Linked DNA regions of Homo sapiens: regions 2 and 3 are each linked to region 1. Evidence: promoter capture Hi-C in human tissues and cell types (Jung and others, 2019). All regions are on one chromosome and are shown on one strand. Each heading gives the region's core, a stretch centred on a gene start or on the middle of the fragment in contact. The rest is flanking DNA. Distances are from core to core; before and after follow the strand shown.

Region 1 (2,995 bases), core at 371-2,870:
GCACTATCCACTGAAGCTTACTTAACATTGGCACATGACTAAAGACAAGAAATCACAGTTATTCCTAGCTTTGGGGCCACTTCCCCATTCAGGATGACCCTCTCTTTAGGGGGTACCCATCCACTTCACATGCTGTGTAGGGCACAGGGTACCCCAGATGATGTATATCTTTCAAAATTAGGTGGGGAAAATGATTGGAGAGAGAAATTAACTATTCAATATTCAATTCAGGAGGGTAACTCCATAGAAACCAGTGACCTAAGGTGGGGCTGAGAAGCAGGTCAGGGGACTGAAGGTAGGCTGGGGGGATTTTGAATTCCGAATCCCTGGGCATCAGGCTTGTGTGGGATCCACTGCCTCCCCCTTCTCCACTACTGCCTTGCCTCTTCCTCCTAACAATTTAGCCATGCAGCTTATCTGCCCAATTTTGTACATTTCAAATGATCAGACACATTCCAGGATTTTCATTCCCTTGACATCCTTTCTCTTTAGTCAGGGTCACGAAAAGACAAAAAAAGTGCACTGACCCTAAAAACGGGGGGGACCCGGGCAGATGCACACGCACTGCCTAAATCCTTCGGCAGCCAAGAATTATCCTAGCTCCCCTCCCAGCACAGGTGAATAAAGCTGAAAAGAGAGCTCACACTGTTTTGGGTGCCAAAAACCTGCCAAAAGAAACCTAAAGTCAATGATGACAAATTTTAAAGAAAACATCTGCTTCACCCAGAAACCGCCTGCGGGGGGTGGTGGCGGGGGGGGGGGGAGGCGGTAGTTAGTCAACAGACTTTTGCTCTGCAGGTGATTTTACTGAACATACATTGCTTGAACGACTGGATACAATTCCTTGGCTTCAAGCTGGAATGCTTAAATATTTTACACGTTAACACACTATTAAAATAGTGTTTAAATAAGATTTAAGTTCCTATATGGCCTGTGTACCTGTATAAACACATATATTACAAACATACATTTGACTAAATTGTATATGTCCATACTCTTCTCATTTTTTAAAAGCCAAGGAAACACATAATGGAATAATAATAATAAAACGATAAGTTATTTTAATGTCATGTTATAGTCAATTGCACCTAATTGTATTCAATAGAGGAATTTTACATTTTACACTAGAAGACTTAAAGTAGCTTTCAGCAATAATTCTCAGACACTTGCTCTCTAAGCTGCAGTCATAAAAAGAACGGGGAAAAATAGAAGCAAGAAAAGCATGAAGGTGGATAAGAACACACTAACTTGTAATTCCGAGACTTACAAGTCAACGAGCGTGCCTACCTGTTTCTGGAGCTCCTTGGCAAGCCACAAACAGCAGAGAGAAAATCATGAGCAAATAATCCATTCTGAAAAAAAGGGATCAAAAACCTCCCGTTCAAACTGAACCCAAAGGAAAACGAAGAAAAACAGCTTCAGGTCCCTCAAAGCGCTGCGGGTTCCTCAGATCTCAAAGCGATCCTTCAGCCCAAGTGCCCTTTTAACGGGGAGAAAAGGCAGCGCCTGCCAGGAGAGAAGGCAGCGAGCGGAGCGTCTGCAGGCGCACGCGGCGGTGGAGAGCTGGGACTGCAGGAGGCGCAGGACCCGTTCGCCTGGCGCAGATGCAGAGGCGCGTCTGACTTGGACAGCTCTCTGCCGGCTTTTTATATTGAACCCCTATTAGAGTGGGGGTAAACAGCTCCGACTTTATTCCAGCCCCAGACAATGTTATTGTGTTATTAGTCACCAACAGGCAACGTGCAGCCGGAGATAAGGCCAGGCCCGAAAGGAAATCACTGCTAACTTCAGAGGCAGACGCCCGCCGTCTGACAATTCGGGGGCAGGGCTAAGAAAAAGAAAATACCCATTAGAGACCTTTGCTAAACCTGCCCGTGCAGTGCTGGAGTCCGCTTCCCCTTTGCAAGCTGCCAGCCCCGGAGTTCAAGAATCAGAAGAGGGGACTCCAGAAAAAAAGTCATACCATTGGTATGAAAAGTATGAGCCACAGTTTAAATAGATTGTATTGTTGTGTGCGGGGAATTTTTTTTAATTGTTGCTCGCTTCATTTTCCTTTTATGTCTCTCCGATTCTAGTCTCAGTCAAACAAGGGAATGCTCTCCCTCGTCACTGCCCCACTACTGGGGGTCAGACTATTTTGGCAGATCAACGTACTTTTCTCTTCAAGCCCCTTCCTGCGGGTCTTTTTTGCTGAAGTTCTTTGCATCTATCGGAGAAAGATCCGTGAGGGATTGGCAAGAAAGGGAGCTTAAAAATAACATCAGAGCTCGTTTAGGCACATGCCCAGTCTTTTCCCTATCACTGATGAGAAGCCCCGATAAGTTCTTTTGTGTGTCCACACTTCCCCTGCGGAGGAGGCTGATAAACTGATTGAAAAGCAAAGGTGTTTTTCACACAGAACTTAAATCTTAAGATTGGTCGGTGCCACCAATCTTAAGACATGGCGGGAGAAGAACACCAGGGGGAGATGAAGAGCTACAGGGGCTGATGTTTTACTAGGACAAAAAGGAAAACCCTTCTAAATGGCAGAAAAAAACGCAACCTGGCTTGGGGGCCGAGGAGGGTCAAGGAATGTTGCCTAACATAGGAAGGAGGAATGCACCTCAGAATATTCTATTTATTCCCCGCACAAGCAGGGACATATTTTCTGGGACTCTTTTTTTTGGGGGGGTGTCTTCATTTAGGGCAAAAAGGTGTTCTTGTACAAGGTTAAGTGAATATGCAAGGAAGGTGGTGCTGAGAAGGAAATGCCATTCGAACAAGGAATCAGATAATACTTCACATTTAATAATGTGTTTACATTTTCAAAACAATTTCCTGTCTATCTAACCTTGAAATCCCCCCCTGAAGTACACACAGGGCAGTTACTGTACAGGTGACATCATGCCTTAATAAAGAAAGCAAAAGGTGCATGGAACACATTGGCTTTTTCCGCTAGTCCCATTTTTCAGGTTAGACAACTGAGCACCCAGAATTTTTGTTTGTTCTCCACCAA
Region 2 (2,995 bases), core at 244-2,743, 540 kb after region 1:
TGTATATATCAGTAGGTATCTCTGAATCAACATGTACAGAGCTGAATATATTCTATTCTCACTGAATATATTGTATTATATTATAATATCTCACTGAATACATTATATTCTCATCTGTTCTGAGCATCTCCATCTCAGGAAATGGAACCATCATCCTCCCAATTGCCCAAGACAGAAACCAGCATTGACCCTGCCACCTCCCTCCACTCTATCCATTCCATTAGCTACTCTCATCCATTCTACCTCCAGAATAGGTAGCAAATCTGTTCACTTTCTAGTTCCACTGCCAACACCCTCGTGGCCACATTTATTTCTCACCTAAATACAACATCTCCAAACTGGTCCTCCAGCTTTCATTTTCAGGCCTCTACAGACCATGGCAAAATCGATTGCAAAATGTTATTTCCCTTTTTAGTACTCAGCAGTGGCTTCCCGCTTCACTTGGAATAAACCTGAACTCCTTCCTATGGCCAACAAAACCTGGTAAACCTGGGCCCTGCTTAATGCTGCAGACACAGATTGAGCTTCTCTCCCCCTGGCACTCCATGTTCCAGCCATTCCAGGCTTTACTGTGCCCTGCAGCTCTTGAAGTTCATTCTCCTACAGGACCTTCGTGCGTACTGCACCCTTGCCCAAGATGCTCCCCATCTGCTCTCCCATGGCTCAGCTGTAGCTTTTAGAACACATCTTGGACGTGGTCTTCTCAGAATGGCTTTTCCTGACTGCCTTCCATGAAGTACGTGCCTCCACTTGTGTTCTGGTACCTAGATTCCTGTTTGTTTTCCTTCATAGCACATATTGTGATTGGTATCTGTTTCCCTACTTGCTCACAGGAAATCTTGCCCATTGACTGTAAGGTCTGCAAGGCCAGGGACCACATCTGTCCACCTTCTGATCCTTAGCACCTCACACAATGCCTGGTATGTGGTAGGCACTTAATGATTATGGCATGAGAGAATGAATGAAGACTTCATCTCTTACTTCAGTAGTTTCTCTATGACCTTGACTGACCCCAGAGTTCTTCTTCCTTTGGGGTGGAGTGAGGTGTGCTGGGGCCAAGAAGCATTAGAGGCAGAGGGAAAGCCTTTAGCAACCCAAGTGTCAGCGTCTGTAGCTGACACTGTATATTTGGACACTTTGGAGTGTTCTTTTATACAGAAAGTTATAAATGAGGACACTGCTAGGAAGCTTACCAGTGCCTTGAAATATCTATAGGGCTTTTGGTTGTTATATCTGAGACACGTGGTCTAATCATGACTGACTTACGTTCAAAGAGATGCATAGAGTCATAATTACATATATTTTGCTTGAGGCGAATCAATGTCTGTTCTGATTGGTGCGGTAGCTAAAAGCATATACTCTCTGGCAGAAAGTTTTCTAGGCTGATACTTTCCTCTGTACATCCACCGTGGTCAGATGTTAATTAGGTAACTGTGTATTCATGTCTCCAAAGAATTAGTGAATCAAAGAAAAAAGGAGGCAGAGTCTGCAATTAAGCAGAGGAATAAGGACATGATCATGGCAGTAACCAGATGAAAGAGAGGCCATCAGGGGAAGAGGAGAAACAGTTGAAAAAAGAAACAGCCCCTTTCTGTCTCTGTGAAAGCCTGTGATAGGTCAGTTTCCCTCCTCATCACTATTGCTGGGCTGCTGCTGGCCCTGGGAGACATACCTGATGCTATCCAACCAGGGGTTCCTGTTGATGGGCAAAGAAGCTAGGAATGAGGTTCATTTGTTGTGCATATGAAAAGTAAATCCATGCCTGTGGAATTCCACAAATAGAAACAGAACAAGTGTTTTCATGGCTGCTATGGAATTTGGAGTTTTAACAGTCCAATAGCAATCAAGTTTCTTCTTATGTTGAGGGCAGAATAAAAAGAGAAGCCTCATAAAAACAGAGGAGATTTCAGCGTTTCTCTTCCTTTTATTAGAAACTAATTTACCCATGAAAATTCAGCTTGAAAGCTAAAGTGCCCTACACAAACAAACAAAACAAACCCTTGTGCTTTTTGTGTCTTCTGAATTTGGAAACCAAAAAGTGCACAATCATTTCAGAGGGGTATTCTGGAGAGCTCGCCTGGTACAAATTGGTTATGAATAAAAGCATGTGTGTGTCTTCAGCATCTCCCTCTGAACACAACTAGGAACTCCTAAAAGCCACATTGTATTATTCTGTGGTGAGAAGGAATTTTGTGACCTTTGGAGAAATTTTGTTTCAGTTTTTCCTGAGAAGACCATGATAAGGAAGTGAGCCACATTTCTTGGCCATGGGAATTTGTCTCAATGCCCCAGGCTTGCGTTCTCAGGAGTGTGGTGGGTTCTAAGCAAGTGGGCTTCTTGCCAACTGGTCCTGCGTTGCAGGTGCCCAAATTTTACACTTACAAACTTGTTAAGATTCCCAGCCAACCTCGGGGTTGTGGAACTGACGGCAGTGGCCTCTGGGGAGCATCTCTATGCTGACCTTCCCTCAGTGTTCAGGCTCCTGGCTCCACATCCAAGAATCCGCTGAGCAGGAGGTTGAGCCCTAAAGGTCCCAGACACTCAACAAGAAATGGAGGACTTAGCCTGGAAGGAAGGACAGGCTCATTGGAAACACAAGGGGCAAGCGCCTGGCCTGCATGCTTACCAACAGCCTTCTTGTCTGGAAACCTAGTAGATTTGGTGCTCATGCCTGAATACCACTCCACAACATTGGACACATCTCTCCTAAATAGTTCTTTCCCTCTTTTCCTTACCTCTGGACTTTCTGACCACTCTTGTCAATCAGCCTTGCAAAATGCTTTTGTTTTGCCTATTTCTTAAATCAAGGATTCTCAACCAGGATGGATTGTGCCCTGCAGGGGACATTTGGCAATGTCTAGAGACAGCTTTAATTGTCACAACTTTGGGGAGTGGGGAAGGCTTGCTACTAGGTAGAAGCCAAGGATGCTGCTTAACATCCTACAATGTGCAGGCCAGCCTACCCCCCACCACAAAGACTTATGGATTCTAAAAC
Region 3 (2,995 bases), core at 178-2,677, 520 kb after region 1:
CAGCTTAGTACCCAATAGGTAGTTTTTCAATTTCTCCCCTCATCCCACCCAGATAAACAATCTTTAACAAGCTCTGGAGAAGCTTCTTAAAAAACAAACTCTTGGACCCCATTTCCAGAGATTTTGATTCCGTAGTCTGGGATAGGATGGAGGTCCTGCATTTCTAACAAGCTCCTGGGTGATGGGTGTAGCTGGTCTGACCCACCTCTGTATCATTTCCTGCCTACGCCCTCAGCCCAGGAGCAGCATGTGGCTGACTTTGCTAGGTCTTTCCTAGAGTCCAGAGCTCAAAGATTGTTCCCCAACAGCCACCTTGATCAATCCCCAGCCCAGCTCCCCAGGCTCTAGAACCTTCCTGACTTATACCCTAAAAGCAGAGTCCAGACCACCCCTCTTGTACCAGTCCAGGGCTTTCAAGGATTTGGATGGATTCTGTCGCAAGCCTAACTTAACCCCACCCCCCAAACTCCATATCTTCATGACCTACCAGTTCTTAAATGAGAAACCACAGAACTGTACAAAGCAACAAGAATGTACAAAGCTTGCCTTCCATATCGTATTACTTTCTTGAAAAATACCCTCCTTCTCTTTCTCCTGGCTTTGGGGGCCACACAGCACTTAGTAACCCACCAGCGCTCATGGCTTGCTCTATCCCCTTGGATTTAAATTGCTGCCACGGCCAGATTGTCTCGGTGAGGCCTGCAGGTGCCCTATTTAAGGAAGAAAGTGCACCGGCTCTTCTTCGGCTGAGCAAGGCACCCTTTTGTGTGCCTTTCTTGGGAGAGCACAGAGATTCGTGGTGGTCCTCTTGACCTGATTCCAGTTTCTCTAGTGAGATTTCAGCACTAGGCATTTTTCCTAATTTTCCTTCCCAGGAAGACTCCTGACTCTGTCCACCCTGTATCTGCCTCTTTGCCTTTGAGCTGTTTATTTGGTTCTTCCAACCTCTGTGCCGTCAAGGTATCCATCTCCTTACATTCCCCTTTTAGGCTGACTCTTTATTTTGTTTCCATGTTAGCTCAAGTCCATTACACTAAATACTGTACACATTATTGTCCCCTAAACAAATTTGCTCAATCAGTCTTAGCGAGCAGGGTCAGGACCCAATGAGCTGGAAGCCCAGCCCTTGAATTGGCTCTCAACCAAAACAACCCAACAGCCCTCTCCCTCTCAAAGCCACATTACTCTCAGAGGGATGGAGTTTTCCATCAGTGAAGAAGGTATTAATTAAAGTAAATGAAAATGCCCTCATTTGTTGTAATGGATTTAGCTCTTGCAGACCATTTTCTACGGGGTCACCTGCCTGGATGATGTGCTGAAAAGAACCAAAGGGGGAAAAGACATTAAGTTCCTAACTGCCTTCAGAGACCTGCTTTTCACCACTCTGGCTTTTCCTGTATCCACGGTAAGTTTCAAAGATGTGTACATAATCTAACAGAAATGTGCATATGGACAGACGCTTCTCCTGGGCAGCCAAGCTGTTTGGGAGCCCATAATTGGAAACCACACCCACTGCATTTACAACAATGTCCTGTCTGAGGACTGCGCCACATTGCCCAGTGTCTTTAGGAAATATGGCACATTAGTGATCAGCTTTATCACTAGCTTTTGTACCTCTGCAAAGGCTTGGTACAAGGTCCTTATTGCCGTCTAATGGGGAAGTTTGAAAGACCTTTCTTAATCAAAATACAACTGAGACAACCTTGGTTCCATCAGGGTGATGGGAATGGAGAGCCCTGGGGAGGGAGATGACGAATTTTCCCCTTTTATACATCTTGTTTCACTTGCTACGATAAGTATATGTTACTTCTGCAAGTGGAAAACCATCAAATAATTTTTTTTTTGAAAAGAGATATGAGACCTTCAAAGGTGGCACATGGAAAAGACAACCGAGGAGAGAAAGACAGCCTGGTGTGGGGTACACAGTGGGTGCCTCATTCATGTTGCTGAGTGGATGGATGTCAGGAAGAAGTGAGACATATGGCAGGGACAGTAAGCTGGTATGCTGATGCCATCCACATTTCTATGACATTGTTCATGTTTTCCATTCGTTAGCTAGAATGGAAATAAACAGAGATCAGGCATGCTGGCTGCCCAGCAGGGCCTATAATTAGAAATGACTACCTTCTTCTACCTGTCATTGTCCTGCTTCCTATAGTACAGAACTTAATTTAAATGCAAAATGCAACTCTCCAAGCCCTAGTGAGTTCTCTGATAACAAAGCAAGGATACCTATTACTTTGCAGGATACCTCTACCTCTGCCCACGTAAAATCTTCTAATGACCAAGCTTTTTGGTTTTGGGGGGTAGGGGAGGGGTTTGAGATAAAGTCTCACTCTGTTGCCCAGACTGGGGTGCAGTGGTGTGATCTCGATTCACTGCAGCCTCAACCTCCCAGGCTCAAGTGATCCTCCTGTCTCACCTGGCTACTTTTTTGTATTTTTGGTAGAGACATGGTTTTGCCATGTCGCCCAGGCTGATCTCGAACTCCTGAACTCAAGTGATCTGCCTGCCTTGGCCTCCCAAAGTGCTAGGATTACAGGCATGAGCCACCAAGTCTGGCTATAGCCAAGTTTTTAAAATCAACAGTGAAGTCTGTTTATTTTTTGAGGCTTAGAAATGGAGTGTGTGAAATGTCAGAAGATAGGAAGATCAGAAGTTTAATAGTTTTTAACTTCCTTATCTATGCGTTGACTTCGTAGCATAGAGGATAGATGCTTTGACAAGAGAGGCAAGGAGTACAAGAGGAGATCAATTCAAAGTTCTGAGCACCAGGGAGATCCAGCCCTCAGTCAGCTAGCTTGTGCATTTTCCAGGGAGATTGGCACTTATGGTTCTCAGGCTTCCTGCTTCCCCTAGCCATGCCTATTTAGAGGGTGGACAAGGAACGTGTATGACTCAAGCTACTCCATGTGCCTACTCTCAGCATTCCTGGTGAAAGTTTAGAAAAAGAAGTTATTGGTTAAAATAAATGACTAATGGTCTGGGAATCCTG

The links. Contacts are between HindIII fragments. The study calls those that stand out against the background at their distance.
Region 2: a fragment that was not itself captured here is called in contact with the fragment with the promoter of EDN1 in region 1 in 2 of the 25 tissues and cell types used here (lymphoblastoid cells and stomach).
Region 3: a fragment that was not itself captured here is called in contact with the fragment with the promoter of EDN1 in region 1 in 1 of the 25 tissues and cell types used here (IMR-90 fibroblasts).

The regions. Positions count from the first base shown.
Region 1 is chr6:12,288,986-12,291,980 of GRCh38, reverse strand. It overlaps EDN1 (endothelin 1), which reads right to left and starts at 1,620. Exons shown (of 5, transcript NM_001955.5): 1 at 1,288-1,620. The coding sequence starts at 1,351. RefSeq lists enhancers at 1,688-1,757, 1,768-1,867. The HindIII fragment of the contact is 6,997 bases long and covers 1-2,995 here.
Region 2 is chr6:11,746,396-11,749,390 of GRCh38, reverse strand. The region is part of intron 3 of ADTRP (androgen dependent TFPI regulating protein); the gene reads left to right. Among named protein-coding and RNA genes, the nearest start is that of ADTRP, 31 kb to the left of the region's middle. The HindIII fragment of the contact is 3,656 bases long and covers 1-2,995 here.
Region 3 is chr6:11,766,659-11,769,653 of GRCh38, reverse strand. It overlaps ADTRP (androgen dependent TFPI regulating protein), which reads left to right. Exons shown (of 6, transcript NM_032744.4): 2 at 1,271-1,405. Among named protein-coding and RNA genes, the nearest start is that of ADTRP, 11 kb to the left of the region's middle. The HindIII fragment of the contact is 3,157 bases long and covers 1-2,995 here.